Regions from separate parts of the Homo sapiens genome. Here region 2 is linked to region 1. The links are contacts of gene promoters, found by promoter capture Hi-C in human tissues and cell types (Jung and others, 2019). All regions are on one chromosome and are shown on one strand. Each heading gives the region's core, a stretch centred on a gene start or on the middle of the fragment in contact. The rest is flanking DNA. Distances are from core to core; before and after follow the strand shown.

Evidence for each region. Contacts are between HindIII fragments. The study calls those that stand out against the background at their distance.
Region 2: the fragment with the promoter of ZNF679 here is called in contact with a fragment that was not itself captured in region 1 in 3 of the 25 tissues and cell types used here (pancreas, small bowel and stomach).

Annotation. Positions count from the first base shown.
Region 1 is chr7:64,265,178-64,269,587 of GRCh38, forward strand. It overlaps ZNF679 (zinc finger protein 679), which reads left to right. Exons shown (of 5, transcript NM_153363.3): 5 at 719-1,754. The coding sequence ends at 1,692. Among named protein-coding and RNA genes, the nearest start is that of ZNF679, 39 kb to the left of the region's middle. The HindIII fragment of the contact is 5,347 bases long and covers 1-4,397 here.
Region 2 is chr7:64,226,783-64,230,953 of GRCh38, forward strand. It overlaps ZNF679 (zinc finger protein 679), which reads left to right and starts at 1,692. Exons shown (of 5, transcript NM_153363.3): 1 at 1,692-1,870. LOC105375319 (a long non-coding RNA gene) reads right to left here and starts at 839. Exons shown (of 4, transcript XR_927576.1): 1 at 731-839; 2 at 394-469. The HindIII fragment of the contact is 35,378 bases long and covers 1-4,171 here.

The DNA.
Region 1 (4,410 bases), core at 474-2,973:
TAAAACTACCTTTCACGATCTTTATAATGCAGCTCTTTCTTGGCATAGCCTGAAACCAATTTTCTTTCTTGGCTAGAGATTCACAGAGTCTCTCAAACATGTTCTCAGGATGTGTCTTGTCTGCAATTTTGTATTTATTTTTCCATTAAAAGACTTCTCCATGTTTCTTCTTACCAGTAGGTAGCTACTTTCCACACCTATTTTCTATCCATGTACTACAGTCTTTCTGCTGTTGTAACATTCACCTTTGATCTCAAAAGACTTAAAGGTGTCATTTCAAAGCATACTACCATTTGATTCAGCACTTTCTATCATGGAAGACAGAAAGGCCTCCATAAGCCAAAAATAAAGATATAGGTGCCAGTATTTTTCTGGTCTTTTGTAATAAAAGCCAGTTTACTCCTAAAGACACCATGTTCTTCTATTGGGGATGAAGAAGGGCTGTGTTGGGTAAATGTATCAGACTTTTCTTTTCTGTCTATATGGCTCTTGGTATTGTGCCCACCTGGTGCACACACTTTATTTATAAATTTCCAGCAAAGGTATTTTGATCACTATGTTTTTGTTACATTTATACACCTATGAAGGAATTATGGCCTGTGGTAATTTGATATGCCATTTTGCTAAAGTACCTTGTATAATTTTATATATTCGATTTGTAAAGTATATCTATCTGGGTGTAGTAAGTGAAGTAACTTGTGATTTTTATGTCTTTCAGTTATGTGTTCTCATTTCACCCAAGACCTTCCGCCAGAGCTAGGCATAAAAGATTCACTCCAAAAAGTAATACCAAGAAGATATGGAAAAAGTGGACATGACAATTTACAAGTAAAAACATGTAAAAGCATGGGTGAGTGTGAGGTGCAAAAAGGAGGTTGTAATGAAGTTAACCAATGTTTGTCAACTACCCAAAACAAAATATTTCAGACTCATAAATGTGTCAAAGTCTTCGGCAAATTTTCAAATTCCAATAGACATAAGACAAGACATACTGGAAAGAAACATTTCAAATGTAAAAAATATGGCAAATCATTTTGCATGGTTTCACAACTACATCAACATCAGATAATTCATACTAGGGAGAATTCCTACCAATGTGAAGAATGCGGCAAACCCTTCAACTGCTCTTCAACCCTTTCTAAACATAAAAGAATTCATACTGGAGAGAAACCCTACAGATGTGAGGAATGTGGCAAAGCTTTTACCTGGTCCTCAACCCTTACTAAACATAGGAGAATTCATACTGGAGAAAAACCCTACACATGTGAAGAATGTGGCCAAGCCTTTAGCCGCTCCTCAACACTTGCTAACCACAAGAGAATTCATACTGGAGAGAAACCATACACATGTGAAGAATGTGGCAAAGCCTTTAGCTTATCCTCATCCCTCACTTACCACAAGAGAATTCATACTGGAGAGAAACCCTACACATGTGAAGAATGTGGCAAAGCCTTTAACTGCTCCTCAACCCTTAAGAAACATAAGATAATTCATACTGGAGAGAAACCCTACAAATGTAAAGAATGTGGGAAAGCCTTTGCCTTCTCCTCAACTCTTAATACTCATAAGAGGATTCATACTGGAGAGGAACCCTACAAATGTGAAGAATGTGACAAAGCTTTTAAGTGGTCCTCAAGTCTTGCTAATCATAAGAGTATGCATACTGGAGAGAAACCCTACAAATGTGAATAATGTGATAAAGTCCAGCCTTCAGACCTTATAATACATAAAATAATTTATACTTGAAAAAATCACTACAAGTGTAAAGAATGTGGCCAAGCCTTTAACCAGTTCCAAACCTTTATTGTACATAAGATAATTCATATTGAACAAAAGTCTTATAAATGTAAAAAAAAGTAACAAAGCCTTTAAGCAGCCCTCAAACCTTAAGGAACCTAAGAGAATTTATTTGAGAACAAAAAATTTTTGAGATGAAGTCTCACTTTGTCACCCAGGCTGGAGTGCAGTGGCATGATCTCAGCTCACTGCAACCTCTGCCTCTTGGGTTCAAGCAATTCTCCTGCCTCAGCCTCCTGAGTAGCTAGGATTACAGGTGCATGCAACCACACTGGCTGATTTTGTATTTTTAGTAGAGATGGGGTTTCACCATGTTGGCCAGGCTGGTCTTGAACTCCTGACTTCAAGTGATCTAACTGCCTCTCAGCCTCCCAAAGCCTAAAAGAGTTTATATTAGAGAGACTCTATGAAGGTAAAAAATGTGACAAAGCCTTTAAGCACATCTCAGGCCTTACACAATATCAGATAATTCATTTTAGAGAGAAACCCTACAAAAACAAAAATGTAGTTAAAAGCTTTAGCTTTTAACTAGTCTTGAACCCTTATTCTACATTAAGAAAATTAATACTGAAAAGAAACCCTACAATAAGGAATATGGAAATGTCTTTAAAAAGTCCTCAAATTTTTGTTTGAATAAATGTAAGATAATTGATATTGGAGACAACCCCTGCAATTGTAAAAAAAAAAAAAATGTGGCAAAGCCTTTAACTGGTTCTCCATCCTTATTAATTAAAAATTTTATGCTGGAGAGAAACTCTACATACATAAAAAATGTAACACAGCATTTAACCACACCTCAAACTTTCTAACAAAGAGAAATCATCCTGTTGAGAAACTCCAGAAATGTGTTAAATGTGGCAAGGCCTTTAAATGGTAGTCACACATTAGGGTAGGTAAGATAATTTATACTGAAGAAAACTCCTACAAAAATGAAAAATGTGGCAAAACTTTTAACAAATTCTCACACCTTATGGCACAAGAAAGCATTTATAACCAGAGAAAAATTGTACAAATACAAAGAATGTGAAAAGCCATTAATATCTGTTCACATCTTAATATCAGAAAGTTTATACTTAATAAAAGCATTATAAGCCAGGTGTGGTGGCTCATGACTGTAATCCCAGCACTTTGGGAGGCCAAGGCAGGTGGATCATGAGGTCCAGAGTTCAAGACCATCCTGGCCAACATGGTGAAACCCCATCTTTACTAAAAATAGAAAAATTAGCCAGGCATGGTGGCATGCACCTGTAATCCCAGCTACTTAGGAAGCTGGGGCAGGAGAATTACTTGAACCCAGGGGGCGGAGGTTGCGGTGAGCCGAGACTGGGCCACTGTACTCCAGCCTGGGCAACACAGCAAGACTCCATCTCAAAAAAAAAGTATTATACATGTGATTACTGTAAAAAGACCTTCAGAAAATATAGGCCTTTAAAGTAAGGACTGTTTATTCTGAAGACAAACATTTCAAACATAAAGAGGATTGTAGTACCTTTACTTGTAATATAGATTTTATTGTACACATTTTATATTAAAGGAAAACCCTGAAGCAGATGCTCAAACTTTGGTGAACGTCAGAGAATTTATATTTGAGAGAAAGCCTGAAAATGTAATGAATGTGAAAGAACATTTGTTCAAAAACTACAGCTTAGAAAACACCAGTTTCTACTAAAAAATATTTTTGCAGATGTAGCAAATGGGGAAAATATATTTAATCAAAAATTAAGTCTATATAAACATTTGAGAATTCACAGTAGAAAGAATGAAGGCACTGAAACTTCAGACATTACACTAAATCAGGGTGCTAGTTATAAAAATGATCCAAAGCTAACATTATATACATTTTAACGAAGTAGTTTTTTTTTTTGGAGATTTATAATTACATCCGAGGTATGCTTCTTTTTCTGTAAAAAAAATATACATTTTCTGAAAAGCAAATAATAATGTAACCCAAGTCTCGAGTTACCTCATGTTGATTCTTTCTTCCCATTGTTTGTGAAAGTATTTGATGAATTGTTGCATCAGAGATATGAGAGATTATTTTTTATAGGTGTCCATTATTCATGAACTTTCCTATGAAAGAGTAAGGACATTAGGTTGTAACATGCATAATGAAAAATCTAAATGAAGAGGCTCTTTGTGGTTGACTTATAAAATTGTTTTAGTGACGTATAAGGTGGGTGTTCACAGTAATATTCTGAATTCTAGTGAGAGGAAAACCTTTCAATGTTAGTAATAAATTATTTTATCAATTGTACCTTTGTGTAATAAAATGCAATAAATTTAAAATTTTTTAAAGATTATGTATGAACTTAATTTTTTCATTAAACAAAATTGTTTTTAATGTGTTAAGACTTGTGCTTTGAAAGAAGGGTTGATTTGCTATCAATTTTAACGTGTCCCATCTTACTTAAGGTTCTAGGTTAAAGATGGTAACAATATAGTATTTGTTAATGTAGGGGAATGACATGTCTAGTAATCTCTTTTTTGCCAGTGTGTGTTTGTTTGTTTGTTTTGAGACAGAGTCTTGCTCTGTCACCCAGGCTGGAGTGCAGTGGCGCAATCTCGGCTCACTGCAACCTCCACATCCTGGGTCCAAGCGATTCTCCTGCCTCA
Region 2 (4,171 bases), core at 442-2,941, 38 kb before region 1:
ATGAACCCAGAAATAAGTCACAATGCTTTTTGTAGGCAGGGAGCAGGCAGGGGAGTCACAGGACCTGGGTTGATGCTGGTTGCTATGAAATGTAAAAATGCCCTTGGCAGGCAGGGCCCAGGAAGGAGTTTCACATTACTTAGGTGGGTGGTCCATGTATATGTCACAATTTTATCTGTGGGCTGGGCCTAGGAAACAGTCAGATCACTCAGGTTCTGGGCAAAGGTATATTTCCCAATCACACACTTGGGAATGTACAGAAATGAGTTTCACAGTTTCACACGAGTCCTGGCTTCATGTATGAGAGGCAACCCCTCTTGTGAGTGGGGTTCAAGTAAAGGAGATACAGTCTCAACAATGCACAAAATGCATGCACAACAGCCCCAATCTCACCTGCAGATTGTGTTCCAATAGGGAACTCACAGCCTCACAGGTCTGCCGAATCATGGTTCGAGAGTCACCAAACCACCTGGAAACCAGATCCACATATGAGAGTAATAAATCCAACTTGCAACTGTTTTTATGTGTGAGATTAAGTGCCTCATTCGTAGGCTCTGTTTATCTGTAAGAATGAGGAAGAGTCTGTCGGCTGGGTCTGCATACAAGAGTCACAATCTCAGCTGTTAGCTAGGCCTTGTTATCACCTCTATCACTCTAGGGCTTCCTATGATAGTCCTGAGTGTTGTAATGTTCTGTGAACTTTATACAAGTAGGAGACCCAGGACATTACCTATGGCCTAAGCCTGGCTACAAAAGTCAAAATATCTCCCACTGTCTGTGTCCAGGTAAGAGAGTCATCATTGTGGTTGTGAGCTGGGCCCAGGTATATGCCACAATTTCACCTGCCGGCAAGAACAAAACAGGAGAATCACATCACCTGGGTGCTAGATCCAGTGATATGTCACAATGCCCACTGTAGGCAGGGCACAGGCAGGAGAGTCACATCATCTGAGTTCTTGGCTCAGCAGTATGTCACAATCCCTTCTGTAAGTAGGGCCCAGAGAGCAAGAAAAATCACATTACCTAGCTGCTGAGCCTGGCAATGTCACAATGCTCCCTGTTAACAGGGCCCAGGAAAGAGCACAGAGTCATATCACACAGCTGATTGGCCCAGAAATTTGTCAAAATCTTCACTGGTGGCAGGGCACAGGAAGAAAAGCAGAGTCACATTACCTAGGTGATGGACCCAGCCAAATGTCATGAACTTGCCTGTAAGCAGGGTCCAGGCAGGACAGGAGAGTCACATTACCTAGGTTATGGGCCCAGAGAGATTTCACAATTTCTACTGAGACCAGGGTCCTGGAATGAGAGAAAAGTTATACCACTTCTGTGAGGTGTCCAGAGGTATGTCACAGTGACCCCTTTGGCCTTGCCCACACAGGAAATGGAAGTCATATCACCTAGGTAATAAACCCAGAGTCATGTCACAATTTTTCCTGAAGGCAGGGCCAAGGCAGGAGAGTCACATCACCTAGGTTCTTGGCCCAGCAATATGTCACAATCCCTTCTAAATGCACAAGCAGGAAAGAAGAGTCACATAACTTAGGTACTGGGCACAGAAATATGCCACAATCCCCAATGGAGGCCAAGACAAGGCAAGTCAGTAGAGTCACATCACATAGGTGATAAGTCCAAAGATATGTCACAATGTACCCTGTGGTAAGGCCTGGGCTGGAGAGTTATATCACCTAGGTACTTGATCCAGGTATATGTCACATTCCCAACTGTTGGCTGGGCCCAAGCAAATTAGTAAAATAAATTAGGTGCTGTGTGAAAGTATACGCCACAATCACACCTGCGGGAAGGACCAGGAATAAATTTCACAATTCTACGTATTTCCCAGCTTTAGGTCTGAGAGTCTACACTTCTGGTGAGTTGCATCCAAATACACGAGACACAGTCTTAACACTGGACAGGATCCGTGCACGAGAGCTCCATCTCCACCTGCAAACAGAGTCCTCATAAGATAGGCACAGCCTCACCAGGGTGCTGAATCTTGGTCTCAGAGTCACTATCCTACCTGTTGATCAGATGCATGTATGTGAGTCAAACTTTCAACTTTTCATTGCCTCTGGGCATGAGATTCAGAACCTCAACAGTGAGCTGTGTCCATATGGGAGAGTGACCATCCTTATTGTTGGCTAGGTATGCATAGGAGATTCACAATTTCCTCTATGTTTTTGGCTCTGTTATGACACTCTTTGTACCATTTGAGATCTTCACACAACATGCTTGAGAGTGGAATTCTGCTCTGAGAACTTTATGTTTTTATGGATCCAAGATCTTACCCGTTACCCTAAGCCCAGGCAGAAGTTAACACATTTTCTCTTGCCTGGGTCCAGGTATGAGAGTCATCACCATGTTTGTGAGCTGGGCCCAGAAATGAGTCAGAATCTTACCTGTGGTCAGGTATTACAGTATTACAGAGAGTGTCAACACAGCCCAATACAAAGTTGCGTACAGTATAATAGGGCATTATACTGTACGCATGAGTGTTGTGATTTTTTTGTGACCTTTGTACAGTTAGAAAACCCAGAACCATCCCCATTTTCCCAAGCGTAACAGTGAGACAACGTCTCTTCTATTAGCTTGGTCCAAGTATAAGAGACAACACTGTGCCTGTGAGTTAGTCAAGAAATGACTTCCCCTTTGACCTGTGGCCACATCCACATACGACAGTCACGATTCCAACTGTGGTCTGCATCCATATGTGAGATTTATAACCTCACCAGTGGGCTGTGTCTAGGTTTAAGAGTGATAATCCCATTGTTGGCTGGATGTGCCTATGAGAGTCACAATCTCTCCTGCTTGTTGGACTGCATTATGACACAGCTCATAAAACTCATGGACTTTATAAAATATTTATGTCATATTTCCTGTGACCTTTTATAAGGAAATGCAGACCCTTACCTGTGTCCCTAAATCTAGCCAGGGGAGTAAAAAATCTGTTGTATTTGCTGGGTCTATGTATGAGAGTCATCATCATGTCTGCTAACTGGGCCTGGGTATATGTAACAATTTCACTTCAGAGTGTGGATCAGGTAAAACAGTCATATCATCTGAATTCAGGGCCAGGGATATGTCAGCATTCTCCTTGTGTGCAGTGCCATGGCAGGAAAGCCACATCACCTGAGTTCTGGGCTTAGTGATATGTTACAACACATGCTGCGAACATAAGAGGATAGTCACATCGCTTAAATGTTGGGCCCAGAAATGTCACAATTCCCACTGTCGGCATGGCCCAGGCAGGAGGGTAACATCATTTGGGTGCAGGATCCAGCGATATGTTACAATTCTTACTGGAAGCAGGACCCAGGCAGAAGGGAAGAGTAACATCACCTAGGTGATGGGTCTAAAAATATACTATGATTTCCCCTGTGGGCCACACTCAGGCAGAAAAAGATGGTAACATAACCCAGGTGATATACCCAGAGATATGTCCAAATTTCCCCTAAGAAAAGGGCCAAGAGGCCGGGCGCGGTGGCTCACGCCTGTAATCCCAGCACTTTGGGAGGCCGAGGCGGGTGGATCATGAGGTCAGGAGATCGAGACCATCCTGGCTAACAAGGTGAAACCCCGTCTCTACTAAAAATACAAAAAATTAGCCGGGCGCGGTGGCGGGCGCCTGTAGTCCCAGCTACTGGGGAGGCTGAGGCAGGAGAATGGCGTGAACCCGGGAAGCGGAGCTTGCAGTGAGCCGAGATTGCGCCACTGCAGTCCGCAGTCTGGCCTGGGCGACAGAGCGAGACTCCGTCTCAAAAAAAAAAAAAAAAAGAAAAAGAAAAGGGCCAAGAACAGGAGAGTAATATCACCAAGGTGTAGCCCAAATATATGTCACTGTCTCGTGTGTTTTATCCAGGCAAAATAATCAAATATCATGAGCTGGGCCAAGGTATATGTCACAATCACACCTGCAGGAATGTCCAGAGATTAGATTCACAATCTCACATTGGTCCCAACACCAGGTATGGGAGTAAACACTTGAGAGTTGGGTACAAGTTTGCAAGTCAGAATCTCAGTGGTGATCTGGATTCCTGCATGAGAGCCCCAAGACCCCTGCAGACCTTTTCCTGGTAGAATAGTAACAGCCTCACACGTGTGCTGAATATATGAAAGTCATCATCTTTTTCTGTGGAACAGATTCACATATAAGAGTCACAGTTCCAACTTT